Linked DNA regions of Homo sapiens: region 1 is linked to region 2. Evidence: promoter capture Hi-C in 16 types of primary human blood cells and fetal thymus (Javierre and others, 2016). All regions are on one chromosome and are shown on one strand. Each heading gives the region's core, a stretch centred on a gene start or on the middle of the fragment in contact. The rest is flanking DNA. Distances are from core to core; before and after follow the strand shown. Region 1 overlaps NAA30 (N-alpha-acetyltransferase 30, NatC catalytic subunit). Region 2 holds the start of GALC (galactosylceramidase).

Evidence for each region. Contacts are between HindIII fragments. The CHiCAGO score rates a contact against its expected background, and 5 or more counts as called.
Region 1: a fragment that was not itself captured here is called in contact with the fragment with the promoter of GALC in region 2 in 1 of 17 cell types (fetal thymus); the score reaches 6.1 in fetal thymus.

The regions. Positions count from the first base shown.
Region 1 is chr14:57,392,903-57,397,429 of GRCh38, reverse strand. It overlaps NAA30 (N-alpha-acetyltransferase 30, NatC catalytic subunit), which reads right to left. Exons shown (of 5, transcript NM_001011713.3): 3 at 555-678. Among named protein-coding and RNA genes, the nearest start is that of NAA30, 4.6 kb to the right of the region's middle. The HindIII fragment of the contact is 665 bases long and covers 1,725-2,389 here.
Region 2 is chr14:87,991,915-87,996,514 of GRCh38, reverse strand. GALC (galactosylceramidase) reads left to right here and starts at 3,333. Exons shown (of 17, transcript NM_000153.4): 1 at 3,333-3,545. The coding sequence starts at 3,351. It also overlaps the pseudogene RNU6-835P. RefSeq lists enhancers at 2,996-3,325, 3,020-3,520 and a silencer at 3,476-3,665. The HindIII fragment of the contact is 1,583 bases long and covers 2,770-4,352 here.

The DNA of each region.
Region 1 (4,527 bases), core at 808-3,307, about 31 Mb after region 2:
TGTTAAGATTAACTAAACATGTCAGGAAAAGTAGACCCAACAAAAAATTAAGTTTGGGAATTACAAGAAACAATCAATTCTCATCTCCTGATCTTTCCTGAATTGCAATATATAGTTGATGACTAGCACCAAGTAATGGTAACAATTTGTCCATAATTTTGGCTTGATTGAGGTCCACTTAACCCAAATACAGACAAGTGCTTGAAGGCTGGCATGAAGGACCATCATAATGTAATTATAAATTGCAGTATTTCTTGTGGTACTTAGCATAATGCAAAGCATTTTGAATGTGATTAAAAAAATCTGCAGGTGAAAGCTGATGATCGGCTACTTGTTAAAACGAAAAACTGTCAAACAAAACATTAATAAAGAAAAAATTCATTTTAAGAACTTTTTAAAAATACCATTTTGAAATTAAAAATTAAAACCCGCCTTAATTTTCTTCCCTTAGTTTCTTTCATTTCTACATACTTACATTTAAGTCTTTTATTTCAAAACACAACAAAAATGAAAATAGCTTAGGCATTCTTTCCATAAAATAATATTTTTCTTACCAATGCCATTTCTCCTGTATTTGGAATCCACGGCTAACATGGCTATATAACCTCTGCGGAACATCTTTTTGTGCATATCCAACTTGCAAACGATGGCACCTACACACTCCTCCCCTACCATGGCCTTAAAAATAAACAAACAGTTATGAAGAATACATTGCCATCAGGTACTGCACAATTATCCAGAGAAAACAACAACCAACCATTGGTAAGCATTTTCGACGGGGGAAGATAATGGGAACTCTTGCAAGACAGCAGTCACAGAAGTTTCAGAAATCTAAATCCCCTAACTCCTTTAAATGTTCCAGTGTTAAAATTTCTCAATATTCTTTAGAACATGAATTTTTTATGCTTACTATTAAAGCCTAGGGAAAAAAGACAAGATTCCACAAGGTAAACATTCAAGTACTTTATAAGATTACATATGAGGTGCTTAAAATCACAATTATTTGCAACAAAGACCTAAGGTTCTGGAAGGGGAAATATGCAAAAAAAAAATGATTATAAAGAAAAAGTCTATTCATTAGGACATAAAATATTGTAAAACTTGCCCATCAGCAGAATGTAAATTTAAATATATTCAGTTAAATTTAGTAATAATGGCCAGGTGCTGTGGCTCATGCCTGTAAACCCAGCACTTTGGGAGGCAGGCGCAGGCAGATTGCTTGAGCTCAGGGGTTTGAGATCAGCGTGGGCAACATGGCAAAACCCTGTCTCCACCAAAATTACTTAAATTAGCCAGGTGTGGTGGCATGCACCTGTAGTTCCAGCTACTTGGAAAGCTGAGATAGGAGAATGGCTTGAGCCAGGAAGGGAGAGGCTACAGTGAGCTGAGATCGTGCCACTGCACTCCAGCCTAGGTGACAGAGTGAGACCCCATCTCAATAAAAGAAAAAAATGAAAATAAATTTAATAATAAAGTTTTAGTGAAAGCCAGATATAATACATATTTACACCTGAATGGTAGATTTCGATCAGGAAAAAAAAATTAAAAATTTTCAGAAAAAGCACAGTTTATAAGGTATTGCTTAGACCATACCCAAGAGGTTTTTGTTAATATATGTAAGTGTAGCATAGTCTCATTTTTAGGATACTCCTGATAGTGTGGATAACTGTCATAAAGCTCTCAGAATATTTATAGTTCAAAATCAAAGCTTTATGTTAAAAGCTTTAATTTTACAGAAATTTCTATTTTAATAAAAACGTACAGCTTTCCAGAGTATTAAAAGCTACATGTTAAATTCTAATCATCCCCCATTTTCATTAAGATTTCTAGTGTTACCATTGAAAATGTTTTTCAAAAATTCCAATGCTGATAAAAAGTTCTAGTAACACAGTATTTCTGGTAAATATAAATAGGGCAGTATCTCCAACTGTTTAAATAATGTGTCAGTAAGAAGTCTGTTTTCCATAAATTAACTTTCCAGAAGAAACTATTTCAACAAAAGCAGAAATGAGTCAAAAAACTAATAAGTAATGTCCAATTTATAATTAATACATATTTTAAATTTGTGACTTTTTTAGTCTGTCATTCTGTAAATTGATTAAAAGGCCTTTTTTTAACTGTGGAGAAATCTTTTCAGCAAGATAATTCTAATCCATTTCATGCAAACCTAAACTAGGTCGGAAAAATCCTTTTGAAGGAATATGAAATTCAACAACCCACGCTAATTCATTTCTGGTTTATCACACATTCCAAAACTATTTTGGGTCAATAAACCTCTGAAATTGTTATTTCTAATTTTTTCCCTCACAATACATCAATCTTTTAAAAAAATTTTTTAAACAAAGACCTGAAGTATGCACAAAAATCGCCTCGACCAACTCTGAAAGCTTTTTCTGATTTGAAACTCACTTCAAATATATGTGCGTATATACAGACACGTATAAATACATACACATACATAAAATTATCACAGACCAAATGGTATATTTAAAAGGGCCAGAAAAAATTTTGGCCTGACCTCATAAGCCAGGCTCAGGTGAAATGAAAACCTGTATTAGATTGATGATACAAACCTCAGAATAGCTACACCTTATATAAAACTATCCAAAAATGAGGAAAAATTAAAACCATTAAACACAATACAACTGGACAGTACTTTCAATCTGAACAGGAATTTCAAACAAATCTTTGTCCTTTGAGCATGGAATAAGCAAACAAAATATTAAATTAGTTCATTCTTAAGACCTGATTTCTTCCTAATTTAGAATCTATAGGAGCAAAAATCAAGCTGTATACATCATCTAAAAAGCCCAATATATCATACACCATTACGATGACATTAGTAGTGAAGACCAATGCTGCATTTTTTTTTCCTGATAAACTACTCATGAATATGTGGTACATTTACAGGAATCACTAAATTGCTTGTCAATTTTTCCAAATAAAAGCTCTGCATATACATTTGGAATTCACGCTATTAAATGTATTTTTTCAAGGATGGGAACTGAAAAATCCCCGGCAAGATTAAGACTTAACACTACAAGGCCAAAGGGTTGTCAGTCTATAAAACTATGAAAAAAATAAAGTGAGAGATTCCCAAATTCTAGAACACTACAAATAGAAAACTGGAGGAAGCCAAAAAGTTAAATTTAGAACAAATAAATGGAAGTACTATGTTACATTTGCTGAGAGTAAGTTTAAGAACTTCAAAAAGATACCAACAACTGAAAATGTTACTATGAAAACAGGTAAAGATAAAATGGTTAAGTACAGAGTAACTGAAAGTGTCTCACATTTGTCCTTTTTTTTTTTTTTTTTTACATCTTTTACAATTAGGAAGAATCATAATAAGCTATCATTTTTATTAATCAAGTATTGGCAATTTTGTAAGGTTCAACCCCATATACTCCATTGACCCATTACAGGTTATCCACGGAAAACGGAACATTTTGGAGGTTTTTAATCTCTTGAGATTGATGTAAGGGCAACTGTCCCTTGGTGAAGATAACTTGGTGACACAATAATCTTCACTGAATGGATCAAGGGTATGTCATTTTTCAGGTTCTTGTTTGTTACCATAATGAGAGGCCAGGAGAACTGGGTTCTAGCTTTACCCTTCCGACGGTAAATATCTGGAGATTGAAACATTTTAAGTCACTTTGGTTCTTAACTTCTTTTCAATCAAAAAACAAAACAAAACCTACCCCTCTGTCAGTAAATATCTGGAGATTGAAACATTTTAAGTCACTTTGGTTCTTAACTTTTTTTCAATCAAAAAACAAAACAGAACAAAACCTAAGTTGGGCTAGATTATCTCTAGGATGGCTTTCAGTTCTAAAAGGATATGATTTAAAATAAACAGACATTTACGCATCTGTATTTTTAAAAAAATAGTTCCTATGGGAAACTTAAATTTAAAAGTATGCCAAGATAAAGGCTTCAGTTTTAAATGGCCTGGTTGTTTTTTTACTGTTTTATTATTGTTTAATACCTCCTGATTCATACTTGCACCAGTAAATCTTATAGGTCAACCACTTGTGCATATCGCAATTCTAGATACTCAGAATATTAAACAAACTTGAGCTACTAAAGGCTAACATACACATTAGCTGGTGAATTGGGAGGGTTCTACATAAAATCAAATCTAAAGTTTACTAATATTGTTGACCAGAGTCTAAAATAGCAAACAAGTTGAGAGAGGCTTAGGTAACTATCAGGACTCAAAGTTGACTAAATATCATATACACAACTATTTCCTGGAATTGACAGAAAAACATCTATTTCAACTTGAAATGTGACTCAATCATCTACTTCTGTGGGTTAACTTACAACTAAATCTACAATTTTTAGCAATTACAGTGGCATTTGATATGACATTTATAATAGTGCTATAAATCATTTTCTCATATTCATTGACACAGACATGTCTTAGAACTATTCTGATACAATGCTTAGAATACTGAAAGAGCAGTTTTCAAGAATATAAAGTAGTACCCACAGTTTTAACAAATGTACTGAATTGAAGTT
Region 2 (4,600 bases), core at 2,084-4,583:
GATTTGGGGTGGCTGAAGTATAGTTGTGATACTTAGAAACACCTGTTATTTAAGAGAAAAATCATCGTGTTTCCTTTGGCAGCACATTTACAAACACTGGAATGTTACAGAGATCAGTGTGGCCTCTGAGCAAGGATGACATGCAAATTCTTGAAGTGTTTCAGATTAAAAAGACAGAGAGAGAAACACTGTCATTACTTTTTAAACTCATTTAAAATCTGAAAACTGGGACCTTCCTTTCTTACCGTCTTATCTCACTGACCCTGATCCACAGACGCAAGGGAAGCTAAGCATATGATCACTCGTGGGGTAACTGTCATTTTTCTTTATCTCACATCTTGAGCACATTTGAGTGCCGTGCCCAGCACTCCAAGGATTTCTGTCAGCATGTATTTATTGGCCTTTTATTAGAAACTTTCTTACCTCATGTCTGCTCTCATGAATATAGATCAGAAATTAGAAACAAAAAATATTTATCTGGTAAGCAATTTCTTTGGTAACTGAACTAATAGGAACTACTGGGACTTCCTGGAAGTGAGGCTACCTTTTCCATTAGAGTTTATGCTTCCTCTTTTGTAGACTTCACACATTGCTCAAATATTTGTGGCGTGCATTCCAACTACAAGGTGCAATTGAGGGACGAGAAAAGGGAAAACTTAGTTGGGCAGACAGCTAAAGTTGGTCTTTGGTAAAATTCTTTTAAACAGAAAGACAGCCTGAAAAATCAAGCTACAGGCACACATAGAGTGGCCTGGGGAAAACTCAGGCAACAGCTGCCCTGATAAGAAAGGAAGGCCCAACATAGAAGCCTTTTGTTCTTTGTGTGATTAGCAGGTTCCCAGGAAAAAGTTTCTTCCCCTTTTCAGGCACATACATGGTGGGCTCTGTGGGAACTTGCATGGGGGTGGAGAGGGTGATTACCTAGAACCCACAGTTACACAAACAAGAGAAGCTGAACTTTATCCTTACCCAAGACATACCCACAGCTGCACAGATAAGGGGAGCTGCACAGATAGCTTTACAAGTAAGTTACACAAACAGCTACAGAGATGAGAGGAGTTTCTTATAAAAGCTTTTGGATTCAACTGTAAAAGTGGCAAAATGGCAAAGAAAGAAAGCTTTCTTCTTTCATATAATAAACTTTCTCTTCAACCTCACTCTGGTGTCCACACTCCTTAATTCTCTTGGTTGTGAGACAACAAGCTTGGATAACACCTCAGACAACGAGACCACTGACCACTGACCCGTTTCACAATGACGTACTACAGGATGGTGTATGCTGGGTATTCATACATCGTCATGCAACTTCCTAGTTTTATGTGTAAGGTAGTTTCCTCTGTCATCACCTTGGTATTTCCCATCTAGTCACGGTATTAAGTGGGTCTTATGCGCTTGTTAAGAGCTGGTAAGAGAAGCTTAACATTCACTTGATGGAATGGTTACTGTGGCTTGTATCCACAGGAGCTCCAGCTCATGCTTAAAATACTGTGTTAGAACAAATGGATCAGAGTGAATTCTGTAACAGTAAATCCACAGAACTGAAAATTACTGACTTGCATCATAAACTGGTTGCAGTGGCAAGGCAGAGAGTTCAGATTCGTGTTGTACTGGGGAAAGAAGAAACCAAAGAAAATAAGTGGTTCATACACAGGGGACTATTTAACTGATCCAAGCCAGAAGACTACTGAGGGTGAAAGGAGCATTATCAGTAATTATGTTTAGACAAAAGTTGTGACTGTCCTTAGTAAACCAGGATAGACGTAGAGTCAATTCAAAAAGAAAGAAAGAACAAACATATCTAATGTACATTAAGAACCCAGGGATATCGGGTTCTTAATGTGCATATTTATTGGATTGCCCAGAGCTTTGACCTTCAAGTATAATTGAGTTCTTGAAACTTAGATTTAGGTTTGTGGTTAAGGGGCAAAATAATCAGATTCCAAATAGGGTTCTGCAGACAAATCCCACAGGTCCTAAAGTCTCTGGGTCTTTTCCTTGCCATTGTGGTATCTCAGGGGCTTGTGTAGGCAATGATAACCAGTTCCATACTTCTGCTAAGAGAAATTTGGGGATCAGAAAATCTTTCTCTGCAGCTCTTCAGAGTCTCTTTAATTTACTTCAATAACAAGGAAATCAGAAATCTCAGGACAGTGCTGGATGTGGCAGAAATTCAGGGCAATTCACAACTTTCCTACCAATTTAGAGTTACCTGTCTGGAATCACTTCAACTGACAGTGGAAGATAGTTTATAAAATTGTAGGGGAGGCAAAATTTCACCTTCGTCCCTGTAGGGTCCCAGCATGGCCCTAGTATTAAATTGATTTAAGATATTAATAGACTGACAGGAGACAACCACACAAATGTTTATTTTACATAGCACGGGGGCCCTCATTAAAAAAAAAAAAGACCTAAAGCAGCAGTTAAGAGCCAATTGCTTATAGAGTGAAATGGACAAAAAATAGTAGTTGTGAAACATGATAAGGCGAAGGGGCTTGGGGTAAAGAAGCGACTAGAAAGATAGGGATTAACAAATTTTGTTTGGACAGATTTCCCTCGACTTCAACTTTCTGTCCTTGAAGATAACAATGTTATTTTATAGGGAAGACATCTTTCACATGGGAATTTCATCTCCTCCTTTTAAGACACATAATATCCATGACAGTGATCTTGCACCTGCTGTTTTTAAGTGCCTTTAATTTAAAATAGTCAATATGCCACAGCAGCATATTTTGAGGTGGTATATTATTAACTCCTTCAAGGCTAAAAGCTTTGAATATGCCGGGGTAGTTACCAGACTGGAGAACCTTCTCAGCTATTTGCCACTTGTGGAATGCATTCAAATGTACTGAGTGCTTATTAACTTTTCTCTCAGTCCCTCACTCTGCTGCTCTTCTCGCCTCATCTCACATAAGGGAAAACTCAGGCTCCAAAAGCAAAGTGATTCCACCAAGATGACAATGGAATCGGGACCTGGTGTCCAAGCCTGGTCCTCGCACGAGGTAGATACTCCCTGAGATGCTGGGGAAGAGCCATGGTAGGGCCACTCATGGCCCTCTTCCTTTGGCGGACCTTGGAATCCACCTTCCCTGCGTTAAAGTGCTCCACCAGGTGACGCCGGAAGAGAAGCCAGCAGTAAGTACATGTGAAATCCAGTAGCTGACCACAGACACGCGAGCGATAAGAAAAAGCTCGCTGCTTCTTTTCTCAACACTCCGCCAGCTGCGTCAGAGGCCCTTGACCCGCACTCAAAATGGCGGCGGCGGCGTCAGCATCAGCGGCCTCCTGCCCGTATCTATCGTGGCGGCGACGGGACCCGCCTCCCTGGGCGCCGGAGTCATGTGACCCACACAATGGCTGAGTGGCTACTCTCGGCTTCCTGGCAACGCCGAGCGAAAGCTATGACTGCGGCCGCGGGTTCGGCGGGCCGCGCCGCGGTGCCCTTGCTGCTGTGTGCGCTGCTGGCGCCCGGCGGCGCGTACGTGCTCGACGACTCCGACGGGCTGGGCCGGGAGTTCGACGGCATCGGCGCGGTCAGCGGCGGCGGGGTGAGCGGCAAGCTGCGGGGATACGCGGGGGGCGGCAAGAGCCCGCCCCGTGGGGCCAGCCCCACAAGCCCCCGCGGCGTTGCCCTGCGTTTCCACCGGCTCCACTCTCCGCCGCATTCCCCTAGGGTGCCAGTCAGCAGGCGGTTGGGGCGGGCCCGCTGCGGGGCTGGGGCGGGTGCTTTCTCGTTTAACACGAACCAGACAGGCAGTTAGGTTTGAACAAATGAGGATCCGGAGGTCCAGAGAGTATAGGTGCAGAGAGTAAAGTGACAGGTCTAAGTAGTGAAGTAGCCGGGGCTGGAACCCTCGTCCCAGGCAGTGGGGCACAGGCTGTCTTCATCGCGGAGATGGCAGTCGGGGAGCGTCGCTCCAGAAAGGGCCAGGGAGTGCGGGAGCGTCCGTGTGCGAAAGAGAACGCCCCAGTGGGATGCTTTGGCTGTGTCTCTCCCTTTTGGAGGAGTTGGTGGGTGGTGGAGTCGTTAAGTCCCGTGCAGTTGTTAGTGCAGGGTAAGAATGGGCTCCTCCAGAGAGGGTAGCGCCGAATAGGATTTCGTTTGGAGGCAGGACTGGTGCCTCAAGGTCTCTTTAAAAGGAAGATAAGCGAGCGGCCTGAAACTACCGGGTACTCCCTCTGGGCCCATGGGCTTCATGGTGGCCGACCTTTGGGTGAGAAGGTTTTTGTTTTTTGGTTTTGTATCCGAAATTACATCTAGGGCTAATGTTTCTTGAAAATGTTAAGGTTGAACTCGGATTTTTGGGGTTGAGTTGGATGGAGCTTGCATCCTTACATTCAACTCAGAACAAGCTTGAATGCCTGCTGCAAGGATGACCTGGTCTGTAGTGTGACCACAAGATATAACCTTCTGCTAGGGGAAATTTTTTTCCCCCTGGAGTTAGCTGATCCTTTTTGATTTTTATGTTTTCATTCCCTAATTTGCAATCTCTCCAGCCGTGCTGATGTGTATTTCAGGGGAAACCTGTGGGCCGATGAGTTAATGCATTTATTCTTTGCTACTACTATTCTCCTTTTTATGTTTTTGGGCTAAACCTGAAAC